Linked DNA regions of Homo sapiens: region 1 is linked to region 2. The links are contacts of gene promoters, found by promoter capture Hi-C in blood cells and fetal thymus (Javierre and others, 2016). All regions are on one chromosome and are shown on one strand. The core of a region is centred on a gene start or on the middle of the fragment in contact, and the rest is flanking DNA. Distances in the headings are between cores, read along the strand shown. Region 1 holds the start of CCDC110 (coiled-coil domain containing 110). Region 2 holds the start of TLR3 (toll like receptor 3).

Region 1 (6,296 bases), core at 1,481-3,980, 600 kb before region 2:
GGGTGCTGGGAACAACACCCTGGACACCCTCAAATTCAAAAGTCTCTCACAAACCCATTCCAATAAGGGTTAATTAGGTTAACCACTAGTTCTGAAATCAGAGACACCTTGGGAACATTCTATAACTCTTTGTAACCTGGCAGTAGTTATGCAAATCAGGTCATTATTTTCTCAGTACACGGGGAATGGATCACTTGGTGACAATGAAAGCATCAGTAGGAGAGTAGAGAGAAGGGCGCCAGCCATACCTCCTAGTTTTGCCTATAGTTGCAGGCAGGAAATTCCTGGGTGGCCCCTGACTCAAGATAACTGGTGTTTATTAAGAACCTGTCCTGTGTCAACCCCAGACCTGTAAACACTGTGTTCTGGCAAGAAAGACTGTAACTCTTAAACATGTACATGTGCTATTTTGCATGTAACTATTTTCTATAAATGTTGGCATCTTTCTCCAGAACCCTAAGCCTCATTCATGTCAAAAAACATGTGATCTTGCCAAATTAAGGTACTTCTATTTCTTCTGACCTTACATGCTCTCTTTGAGGTAAATACGGAGCTACCTCAATGTCTCAACTCTCTGTGAGGACTCTTTCTCCTTCGTTCAGGGGGCCCCTTTGCCCCTCCTGGTTGCCCAGGGAAACCTGCATATCTCAAGGGTGGAGGCAGGAGGGCGGAGAGGGGACTGGCCAGTGCCTGTCCTGCTGGCCTCCACTGGGGTGTTGCTCATCCTGGTAGTGCCTGGGCACCCGGGTGTCTTCTGTCTACTGAGGTGTGGCTGCTCTAGTCTCTTCTTTCCGGGCCCTGACAAGGCTTTTTGTGAAGATCTTGCATGGTGGAGGTGCAGAAATCCTGTCCCAACCTCAGTCCTCTTGTGGTTCAGCACTTTGGCATCAGGATTGCCCATATCCTACAGAGGGGCAACTGGGGGTCCGGGCATGGCACATCAGTCTAGACCCTTCTCCTGCCCCGTGCTCTGCTCCTTCCCCGGCATGTCCCCTCACAGCAGGCTCCTCTGAGAGGCGTGTAGTCAGTCGCCTGGGACTCCACCTTCAATGTCCTCAGATTCCCCTAGCTGGGTACCCCCATCTTATTCATAATTTATGTGGTGCTTGAAAGCTTTAGCTATGTGGCTATTTCAAACATCCTCCCCATATAATATCCTGTAGTCCGTAAATATTTACTATAAAAAGTAGTTTTCTTTAGAAAAGGTATACACCCCTCCCTGGATATCCACAGGGGATTGGTTCCAGAGCCTCTGCGGATAGCAAAATCTGCAGATGCCCAAGTCCCTAATACAAAATGGGGTAGTATTTGCATAGCTTCTATGTGTATCCTGCTGTATACTTTAAATCATCTCTCGATTACTTGTAATACCTTATACAATGTAAATGCTATGTAAATGGCTGTTATACTGTTCAAAATTTGCATTTAAAAATTGTGGTACTGTTATTTTTAAAAATTTTCCCCCCTGAATATTTTCCATCTGTGGTTGGTTGAATCCAAGGATGCGGAACTCCCAGATACCGAGGGCTGACTGCATATCGTTTTAGTGTGTGTCCAAAAAACTCAACAATTCTTACTTAGCATTCAGAGAAGCAACGGAGCGTAGCGTGGTGGTGAAGACAGGCAGTCCGGAGCCGCCCTGCTGAATGCCCGCTCCATTCCTCGCTGCCTGTGTGACCTTAGGGAGTTAACCTCTCTGTGCCCGTTTCCTTATCTGCAAAATGGGGATCGTGGTAGCACCCACCTCGTAAAAGTGTTGTGAGAATTAAACAGTTGATCCATTACGTGCTTAGAACAGCACTGGCACAAAGCGCGAGTGCCGTGGTGGCTGCTGTCCGTGTCATCACGGCCGTGGGAAGCACGCCAGGTGAGCAGGTGGCACAGGCCAGATGCTGCCGCCTGTGTATAGTTAAAGGAGCCTTTTACGGTCTGGCGATTTTACCTGTGTCACTGCAGCCACTTTCCTTCACCCCCTCCGAAGAATTTAGGATCTTGGACGCTGAAAGGAGAACGGAGTCAACTTCATCCTCTTCCCGGTGCTGCTTTTCTGTAACAGAACCGTCCGGGGCTGTTCTGTCGCGGGTCGTGGCGTGGCGGGGCTGAAGGTGGGGGCGGGGCAGAGGGATGGGGCGGGGCAGGGCTAACGGCTGGGGCGGGGCGGAGGGAATTAGGAGGGGGCGGGGCTGAAGGCTGGGGCGGGGGGGCGGGGAGGGCGGGGAGGGCGGGGCGGAGGGAATTAGGAGGGGGCGGGTTTGAAGGCTGGGGCGGGGCGCAGGGATGGGATGGGGCGGAGAGACTGGGCGGGACCTGTGGGGGCAGAGGAATGGGGCGGGGTCAAGGCTGAAGGCTGGGGCGGGGCGGAGGGATGGGGCGGAGGGACGGCATCAGGCCGGGCCTGGGGCGGGGCGCGGCGCTTTCCGCAAGCGGCCACCCGAGGGCGCGCTGGGCGGGCGGCGGCGGCAGACCACGTAGCCAGCCTGTAAGCCACAGCGGACGCAGGGGGCCGCAGCGGGTGCTCAGCCCTAGGGCCGAGCGGGAGATGTGCGGCGAGTGCAGAAGGGCGGACCCGGGATGTCCCGGGTTTTCGAGCGGGGAGCCGCCTGCTGAATGCCCTTCTGCTGCCCTCCGTTCCCGCGGCTCCCCTAGGAGCCCCGCCCCGTCCAACTCTTACCCGGGCTCATCGCCGCGGCTCATCTCTCTCGCAACCGCCGCCGCACGCACCCGCTCCGCCGCCCCGCGCAGGGCATCCTGTCGCCAGGTAACCGGGTGGCCGGGGCGCCGGCCCCACCCCCACCCTCGGCGGCGCGCGCTCGGCTGGGGTCCCTGGTGGGGTCCCGGTGGGTCCCTCCTCACTCCGGACGCTTCCCCGAGAGCTTCCCTGGGAACCTGGCCTGGGACAGCCCACCTGGGCGCCTCCCCGCACACGCGCGCGGCTGTCCGGGACGGGCTTGCTCACACTCGGACTCGCTGCGGTACCCGCCGGACCAAAGCGGTGCGGAGAAAGGGACCGCCCGGGGACGGACACACGCCTGAGAGCTTTCCCTTTGCCTTTCCACATCTCCACTTCATCGCTGTTGTTTTTTTTTTTTAATTCTTAGTCCTCTCATTTCAGCGCATCCCTCAGAGGAGTTTCAGCATTTGGGGATTTGAACGGCCCATGACCAATATTGTGAAAGGACTTTTGTTTGCTGCAATGAAAAGAAGACTCCTATTTTTCAATAATGAATTAACCTAAACATGTATTAAAATATGCTCATGAAAGCTGTGGGAAGCGACGGTGGGCTTCCTTTGTCTAAGCATGTTAATTTTTACGCACCTGGTGTATCACGTGCAGGATTGATGTTGCGTTCACGGGAAACCTGACCTCCTTTAACCAAGGACTGGGTGCGTGCCCCCAGCTAATCCTCCTGCCCATCAGAAAATGGTGCTCTTTAAAGTTTTAAACGAGTATATATTATTTATTTTGTAGTAAACCATCACACATAGAAAATTAAAATTCAAAATCACAATCACCAGGATATCATAATTTGCTATATAATAACATATAATATATAATAAGTAATACATGATGGCTTGCTTTCATTGAAATGAAACTTCTTATGATAGTTTCAGTGCTTACTTCCTCTAATTTGTTTCTTATAGAAATGGGCTCTAGTGCACGCGCCTGTAATCTCAGCTACTCAGGAGGCTGAGGCAGGAGAATCGCTTGAACCCAGGAGGCGGAGGTTGCAGTGAGCCGAGATGGCGCCACTGTGCTCCAGCCTGGGCAACAGAGCCAGACTCCGTCTCAAAAAAACAAAAAAAAACAAACAAAAAAAAAAAAAAGAAAAGAAATGGGCTCTAGGTCCGGCATGATGGCTCACACCTGTAATCCCAGCACTTTGGGAGGCCGAGGCGGGTGGATCACCTGAGGTCAGGAGTCCGAGACCAGCCTGACCAACATGGTGAAACCTTGTCTCTACTAAAAATACCAAAATTAGCCAGGTATGGTGGAGTACATTCGTAATCCCAGCTACTCGGGAGGCTGAGGCAGGAGAATCACTTGAACCCAGGAGGCAGAGGCTGCAGTGAGTCGACATAGTGCAACTGCACTCCAGCCTGGGCCACAGAGCGACACTCTGTCTCAAAAAAAAAAAAAAAAAAAAGAAAGAAAGAAAGAAAAAAATGGGCTCTAGAAGATTTGACTTTCTTGTGGCATTGTAGACAATTTTAATAAATTATAATTTTGAGAATTTATGGTCTGCATTGCTGATTGATATTGATGATTCAGGAGATAGAAATTATTTAGGCAGATAGGGCAAAAGAGTCTTCAGCAGAACTTCTAACAAAAAACAGCTCAAGAAATCATTTTTTTTTCTAACAAAGAGCAGCCTGAAAGCCTGCAAACCTTGCAAAGATAGATCAGGAAGCTGGAAGCGTGCACACCAGGGCGCAGGGGGTTGGGGGGCAGCGTGCGGGTGGATGCCAGCAGCTGCGCTGATAGAAAAGGGCTACCTGGGGGCCAGGCATGTCCACCATGGAATCTCCATCTCCCCTTTTTTGTTAGCACGTGTACAGTAAGAAAGAGATGGGCGATATGGAAAAGCTCAGTCAGAGAACCCACCTGCGTAGTAAAAGATTGGGGTGGGGGCTGCCAGAGATTCATGCCCTATGCAGATGGCACACCTGGTCCTAACTGGTTTTTCACGCCCTATGTAGATCAGACTGCCTCCCCATTAGCTCATCTATAAAATTCTATAAAAAATATTTCACAGCGAATTGGCAACCCGGGGACCCCTTTCTGTAGCGGAGAGCTTATTCCCTTTCTTGTCGCCTATTACATTTCGGCTCTTAACCTCACTCTTTGTGTGTCTGCATCCTTGATCTCCCTGTGAGACAGCAAACCTTGGTGTCAGCCCACACAATGAGGCTGCTTCATTGATAAAGTTAATTTTTTTCCTGAGAGCTACACAAGTTTTCAGCAATATGTTTGTGAAATTACTACTGTAAATAAATTGCATTCCTTCAAAGGGTGAATGACAAAAAGCCACTACATTTTAGCAAGTCTGTTTTTATACTACTGAAGTTTCCACAATTAATTACTATATTGTATTTTATGTAATGCTAATTATTAATATCTAATCATTTGATAATTTATGTAATAATGTGTAATAACTCTAATTTGTCTATGTAATATTTGTGGACTATGATGACAAATTAATATCGGTTATTACATAGAAATTACTTGTGGATTTTTGTGGGAGCACTCAGTCATACCATTTAGTGTAGAATATAAAAAGCAGGTGATAGATGCTACAACATCAAACTCAGATTTAGCCAGTGCACTAATCTCAATAGAGAGTTACTTCCATTTTAAGCTACTTCCTAATCCATTCATCAGTCAGAAAAGCAGCTCTTTAGTTAGAAGGACACTTTATTTTAGATGTCCTATAAGGCCTTTTGATTATCACACTCATTTCTCTTTTGTAAAGCACATCACATATATATTCTCAGTTAAAACAAAAATTTTGTCAGAAAATTATTGCAATTAATATGTAAAAAGGCTGTCTTTGGAGCCAACAGTTATAATATTTTAAAAACTGTTTTCAATAATAAAGATGCCTATGATTTGAATATCACCCTCTCAGATGAACCCCCTCGTGAAGGGCCTCACATGAACATTGCGTGCGCCAACCCTGGTATTCGAGGTGGGAGAATCTGGAAGTGGTAATTAGAGCATTGACATGTCTCTAAAAAAATGGGGGTGGGAGGTGGTCACAGCCCTTTAGGGACATTCACTGCAGTGTGAAATGTATGTTGAGGGAGAAATCTTATTTGATCACCCATGGCCACTTAAAACCATTTTCACCTGCGCTTGAAACTACCTGCATTTTGAACTCCGTGGCTGACCGAATGATGGGCCTCTCTGAAAAGGAGTTTCCTTATCTGTACAACTGTGAGCCAGTAGTGAGGATGAGTGAAATCCCAGGTGAAGGGCCTACTCCAGGAGAAAGCAGAGTGGTCACATACGGGGCTGACAGTGAATGGCAGGTCTAGAGCCCCGTCTAGGGTGGGATTCCATAAACACTTTTGAAATTTTTTTTTCCTGTGGTTCTTCTTTGAAAAAACTTGACACTTCAGTGGAAAAAGATTCAATTATTGTAGCTCAAATATTAGAAAAAATGTATATTTTAAAGAGATAGTAGAATGTGTTGTCTAGTTTATATTGTGTGTGAACTTTGATGAACTTGCCAAGCTTCTAAAAATAAAAAAATTGTTTGGGCATCTCAGTGAGTGCGTGTTTAGATGGCCTATAA
Region 2 (5,907 bases), core at 2,793-5,292:
ATCAGAACCATGTCCTTTCTGAATGGGGGCTGTGAAGGGACCAGTTGAGTGCAGTTCACAATGACTGTCTATCTGGTGCTCTCAGGGAATTTAACCATTTGTTTAGGTTCATAATATATTCATCGCATTACATACCCATGAGAAGTTTGAATGATGAAAAGGTCTAGCCTTACTTTGGCTTCCTGCCAACCCAGAGAACATTGGTTGGTCCAATCTCCTTGTTCCTATTCTTAAAAAGTAAACTGATACTAATGGCACAATATATGTTATTTGGGTGATGAATACCCTAAAGACCCTGACTCCATCACTATGCAATCTACGCATGGAACAAAATGGCACTAGTACTCCCATAAATCTATACAAATAAAAAAGTAAACTGAGGCACAATACAGTTTTACAGTGCTTCTGAACCAGCAATGATTCATGAACCAGAAGTGGTTGGGGAGCTCCACCAAGGGAACACAAGAGAAGGCTTTTTCAGGACAGAGACAGAAGTAGAGCAAAGACAGCGCTTGACTGTTTACAGTTATACAGCTACCTTATTTGGTCTATCTCATTGGAAAGTCCTTAGTTATATAAGTTTGTTGGCTGCTTCTGATTGGTTGTGTTTACGTTTTCTTTAATATAGGCATTTACAAGATATAGTGCTCAAGTTATTATGTTTGCGTATGTCACTTATGTTTGCAGATCAAGCAAGGTCGAGGTCGCTTATGAGCCCTTGCTGGTTTGGTATGTTCATGGATTCTTCTGGCCTGGTCTCCATTTTAATGTACTTTAACACCATGAATAAAGGTTTACTTCTGAGACTCTAAGAGCCCGTTTAAATTAAACCTATGCATGATATTGCCTCAAATACCCAACAGCTCACTCATAATTGGATATTCATTGCTGGCACAAATGTTAAGTATTACTGAGCAATTAGTTCTCTCTATATTTGGCCCTCACAGAGTGTAATTATTGTATTGTTCAGTACTAATCTGCCTTTTCACATACATGCATTGAGAGGAGAGTCTTCTGTTTGCCCCACAATTTCAATTCTCTATATTTGTGGTTAGAAACTGCGGTGACACAATCCTCATGTCTAAATTCATTCATTCGGGAGATTGTAAAGATGGTTCCGTAAAGCCTCAGTATTGTAGGTGCTGATAATGATGATAATGAAAATGATAAACTTTCCCTTATAAATCTTATAATGAATTGACTAGACTGCCTACAGACTATACACTATCTTTGTCTATAGGTAAAATGGTTGTAATTGGCCGGGCGCAGTGGCTCACGCCTGTAATCACAGCACTTTGGGAGGCCAAGGTGGGTGGATCACGAGGTAAGGAGATCGAGACCATCCTGGCTAACACGGTGAAACCTCGTCTCTACCAAAAATACAAAAAATTAGCCGGGCGTCGTGGCACGTGCCTGTAGTCCCAGCTAGCTACTCTGGAGGCTGAGGCAGGAGAATTACTTGAACCCGGTAGGCGGAGCTTGCAGTGAGCTGAGATCGCGCCACTGAATTACAGCCTGGGTGACAGAGCAAGACTCTGTCTCAGGAAAAAAAAGATTAAAAAAAATAAAAACGGCTGTTTTATTAAGAATTGTTATTAGGAACGGGCAGAGAAGAACAGTGTCTGTGTAGTTCAGCATGTGAGTGGTAATTTGCTAATTATATCTGGCTTGTCACTCCGGTCTCTGTAACTTGCTGTGTTTTGTCAAGTGATTCTTCCAGAAATTTTGTGTATATTATCTTACTAAACTCTCATTAAAGAGGCCCCTCAAATGGAAGAAGGGAACTTAGAGTTTTTAGAATGTGAATAAATTTAAGGGACTTTGGCTTCTAGAATTCTGTAGATCTCTGTTTTGCTGGGAATATACAGCTTCCCATTATTCTGAGATTGGCTGATCTGTAATGCTGTGAAATATCAGTGTTTACTAAATTTGTTATTTTACATTTATGGGCATACATTTTTTTTTAATTCTCTCTCTCTCTTTTTTTGAGACAGGGTCTCCCTCTGTTACCCAGGCTGGAGTGCAGTGGCGCACTCATGACTCAATGCAAACTTGAATTTGCCTGGACTCAAGTGATCCTCCCACCTCAGCCTCCCAAGTAGCTGAGACTATAGGCATGCACCAACATGCCCAGCTAATTTTTGTAATTTTTGTAGAGATGGAGTTTTACCACGTTGCCCAGGTTGGTCTTGAACTCCTAGGCTCAAGCAATCTCCTAAAGTGTTGGGATTACAGGCATGATCCACTGCTCCCAGCCTTAATTCTTTTAAAAAGGGGAAAAATGAGGTTTTTCACTATTGCTCCAATCACCATCATAGCTAAATAAGTTAATGCACATAGTTAAGAAATGTACAGTAGAGAGAAAACAATCTGTGTTGTATTTAGAAACTAGCAAGAATTAAGGACTAATAATATCTGAATATGAACTGGTATTAAGCCCAAACTACTGCATCAGGAGACCATCAATAAAATTTATTTATCGAGAGCCATTCATTAGTCAACCAAAGTCGTGGGAAATTTAATCTGTATAAGGAGTCATAAGGCATAAGGGATAGGTATGAAGGATTGTTGAGATGATGTGTTTTATTTCGCTAATAATGCATATGACACCATTCCAATTTTTTTAAATTTAAAACAACAATCATTTATTTGCTTGCTTCTCAAGCCTGGGTAATCGTGTTTGGCAATGAGACCTTGTTGCATGCTTGCTAATATCCCACTGGTCAAAGCTAGTCAAATGGCCAAGCCTAGAGTCAGCGTGGGAGAAGGCCACACAAGGGTTTGAATTCTGAGGACGAGTCTCTTTCATTGAAGGCCAAAGAAACAGTCTACCTCAGAGGGTTGCTGGGGAGCTATAATGCAAAGAATAAACCTCACCCTGCCTTCAAGGCGCTCACAGAGAAGAAATCTTTTGAATATTAGTGAAGTTTTCCTGGACATCCCAATGGATAGATGTGAGGGACAGTCACGTACTCAGGACATCTGTTTGCTTATGGTGTTATGTTACAGATGTCACAAATGAAAATCAGAGACATGTAGCCCTGAGCCCAGTAACTATAAAGCGGTCTAGCTGAAGCTGGAGCCCACAAGAGGGCACTTTGCACCATGATGCACGCTTGTTTCTTGCCATCAGCTCTGCAATGAGTTCAAGCTAATGCCATGTCCCAGCCGTCCAGTTGTTTTATGACTTGTGTGATTGAAGCATATGGTGGCTTGTGGCATGTTCTTAGGCAAACCACTCACCTCCCTAGGTTTCGTTTTCCTAATTTCTCAAACAAGGGAGTTAGATTAGGTGGTCTATAGTTCCTTCCAATTGTGATATTTCACTATATAACAATATAGTTATAATAGATCATAGCACATCTGTAATGAAAAAAAGTGAGTTCATTTCTTAACAAGTACATTTACTTAACTAGTTGGAGTCATTAAAGCAAATTAAGAACGAAATTCTTAGTTAATCTGAACTTTTCTGGGCATACTGATCTGTTCCCTAACGCGTCTGACCGTGGAAAAGTGGATCAGCAGGAGTGGGACTGGCTCTCAGCTTTGCCATGTTTGGCTCTTTCTCTGCTGTGAAACTCAGTTTCTTCCTGGATCAAGAGGTTAATTTCTGCCGGTGTTATTTTACAGTGTTGCAAAGAGATAAAAGCCAGACGAAAGAAGGGAAAGTACTTCAGCTTTGATTAGGGATTTTTTTTTCTGTCCCTGTGACCATACACTACTCAATTCTGACAGCTTCGCATGAGTCTAGCAGAAAATTGAGGGATTCACTGTTATTCCTTAACTTGCAGAGGTCCAGACCCGCCCACATCAAATGGTGAGGTCCCCACTTTCAACTTTAGCTGTTGCTAAATCTGTGACCCTTTCAATGAAATCCAAGGATCTCAGCTTAAAAAAAGTTAAAATAAAATAAAAACTAGGTGTTTTTCAGAGGCGGTTTGAAACGCCTCTCTGAGGTTGTCAGAGATTGTTTTTGTTTTCTCCCTTTGCCCTTCTTGGAATGCACCAAACATAAAAGCATTTTTTTTCAAGCTTTACTTTCACTTTCGAGAGTGCCGTCTATTTGCCACACACTTCCCTGATGAAATGTCTGGATTTGGACTAAAGAAAAAAGGAAAGGCTAGCAGTCATCCAAGTAAGTGAAGGTGTTCATTTCACGTTCTTACTGGGCAGGGTCTCTCTTGCTGAGTAGAGTTTGCTAGCAGAATGCATGTGGTTTTAGCCTTCTTTGGTCTTTCTTTGATCTGGTGCTTGAAATCTAGTCAGAATTATTCAGGAAGGAAAGTGGAAGAAAAGGGATATGATATGGGCATGGGAGAAGGGTATAACTCAGAACACAAGTAATAGCACCAATATCTAGTTAATGTGATAATGTATTTATGCAGTATTTAATTTTTTTCTCTGTAGCATTCTGTACCTGGAAAAAACACATTAGGGAAGCTATGGAAATCATTTTGCAACAGTCTTTTTAGCAAATCACATCTTTGCCTTAAAGAAACAAAACTCCAAGAGGTTAAAAGAGCGTATCCCCTTTTGTTAGTTTTATTGGCTGGAGGGGAGACAGGAGCTGGCATTGTATGACAATGTCTTAGATAGGAGAGAACATTCAGGTATGCCTAGGAGTAAGTAAATGGCTTTCTTTCACCTAATGAAGGATAATGGAAGAAGTGGAGAAGTGGAAAGTTGTTAAGGTGTATGGGAAGATCAGAAACTGGTATCGGCAATTGTGGGGTACTCGGGTAAAAATGGAGTTGGCTTCAGCAAGTTGATTCCCAGGTTTACAGATGATTACGTGCTGGTATGTGTCTTCATATGGGCGTGCCTGTGTATGAACCTACTACAAAGGTTGCAAAGTTTACAAATCAAACTATGGATAGTGGTTAACTCCAGGTAGTCTGCCTCCAGACCCCATGTCCTAACCATCAGGCAATATTGTCTCTCACTTGGACAAAGAATGTGAATTCCATGTGCCCTCACAAAATATTTCCAAAATTCTAAGGCTGAGTGAGTCTCTTTTTAATTTTTTTTCATTTTCTTTATTTCTGCTAGATCTCATTCAACAGCAACGTTTTCTTCACTCTCATTTCATCCTTTAACTGCATTTTTGCTTGTTTTACTGAAGCATGTCCTAGAATAACCTTTTCATACAGATCGTATGGCTATAAACTTACTGAATTTTTGCATATCTCAAAATACTTATACCTTTTTATTTAGTTATTCAGATGGATGTGAAATTTCCCTATCTTATTTTATTTTATTTTATTTCATTTTATTTCATTTATCGATTTAGAGACAAGGTCTCGCTGTGTTGCCCAGGCTGAAGTACAGTGGCATGATCGTGGCTCACTGCAGCCTTGACCTCCCTGGCTCAAGCAATTCTCACACCTCAGTGTCACGAGTAGCTGGGACCACAGGTGTGAACCACTATGGCCAGCTAATTTAAAAAAAAATTTTGGTGGAGATGAGGTTTCCCTGTGTTGCCCAGGCTGGTCCCAAACTCCTAGGCTCAAGGGATCCTCCAGCCTCAGCTTCCTAAAGTGATGGGATTACAGGCATGAGCCACAGGTAATTTTCTTGGCCTGGTCAAAGGTAATTTTCTTGTTTTTTAGAGGTAAGGTCTTGCTCTGTTGCCCAGGCTGGAGTGCAGTGGTGTGATCATGATTCATTGCAGCCTTAACCTCCTGGGCTCAAGCGATCCTCCTGCCTCAGCCTCCCAAGTAGCTGGAACTACAGGCTTGTGCCACCACACTTGGCTACTTTCTAAAATATTTTTGTAGATACGGGGTCTCACTATGTTGCCCAGGCTGGTGTTGAGCTCCTGATCTCCTTCTGCCTACACCTTCTAAAGTGCCGGGATTGTGGGGATGAGCCACTATGCTTTGCCTGGATATGAAATTTTAAATTCAA

Evidence for each region. The method cuts DNA at HindIII sites, captures the fragments that hold promoters and counts their contacts. A CHiCAGO score of 5 or more calls a contact.
Region 1: a contact is called between the fragment with the promoter of CCDC110 here and the fragment with the promoter of TLR3 in region 2, in 8 of 17 cell types (M0 macrophages, M1 macrophages, M2 macrophages and 5 more). The highest score is 22.1, in M0 macrophages.

What each region holds. Positions count from the first base shown.
Region 1 is chr4:185,469,003-185,475,298 of GRCh38, forward strand. It overlaps CCDC110 (coiled-coil domain containing 110), which reads right to left and starts at 2,731. Exons shown (of 7, transcript NM_152775.4): 1 at 2,672-2,731; 2 at 1,943-2,047. The coding sequence starts at 2,681. It overlaps LOC105377590 (a long non-coding RNA gene), which reads left to right and starts at 2,429. Exons shown (of 2, transcript NR_133944.1): 1 at 2,429-2,758; 2 at 3,113-3,261. RefSeq lists a silencer at 2,316-2,945. The HindIII fragment of the contact is 5,122 bases long and covers 1,112-6,233 here.
Region 2 is chr4:186,065,114-186,071,020 of GRCh38, forward strand. It overlaps TLR3 (toll like receptor 3), which reads left to right and starts at 4,043. Exons shown (of 5, transcript NM_003265.3): 1 at 4,043-4,135. The HindIII fragment of the contact is 1,902 bases long and covers 4,031-5,907 here.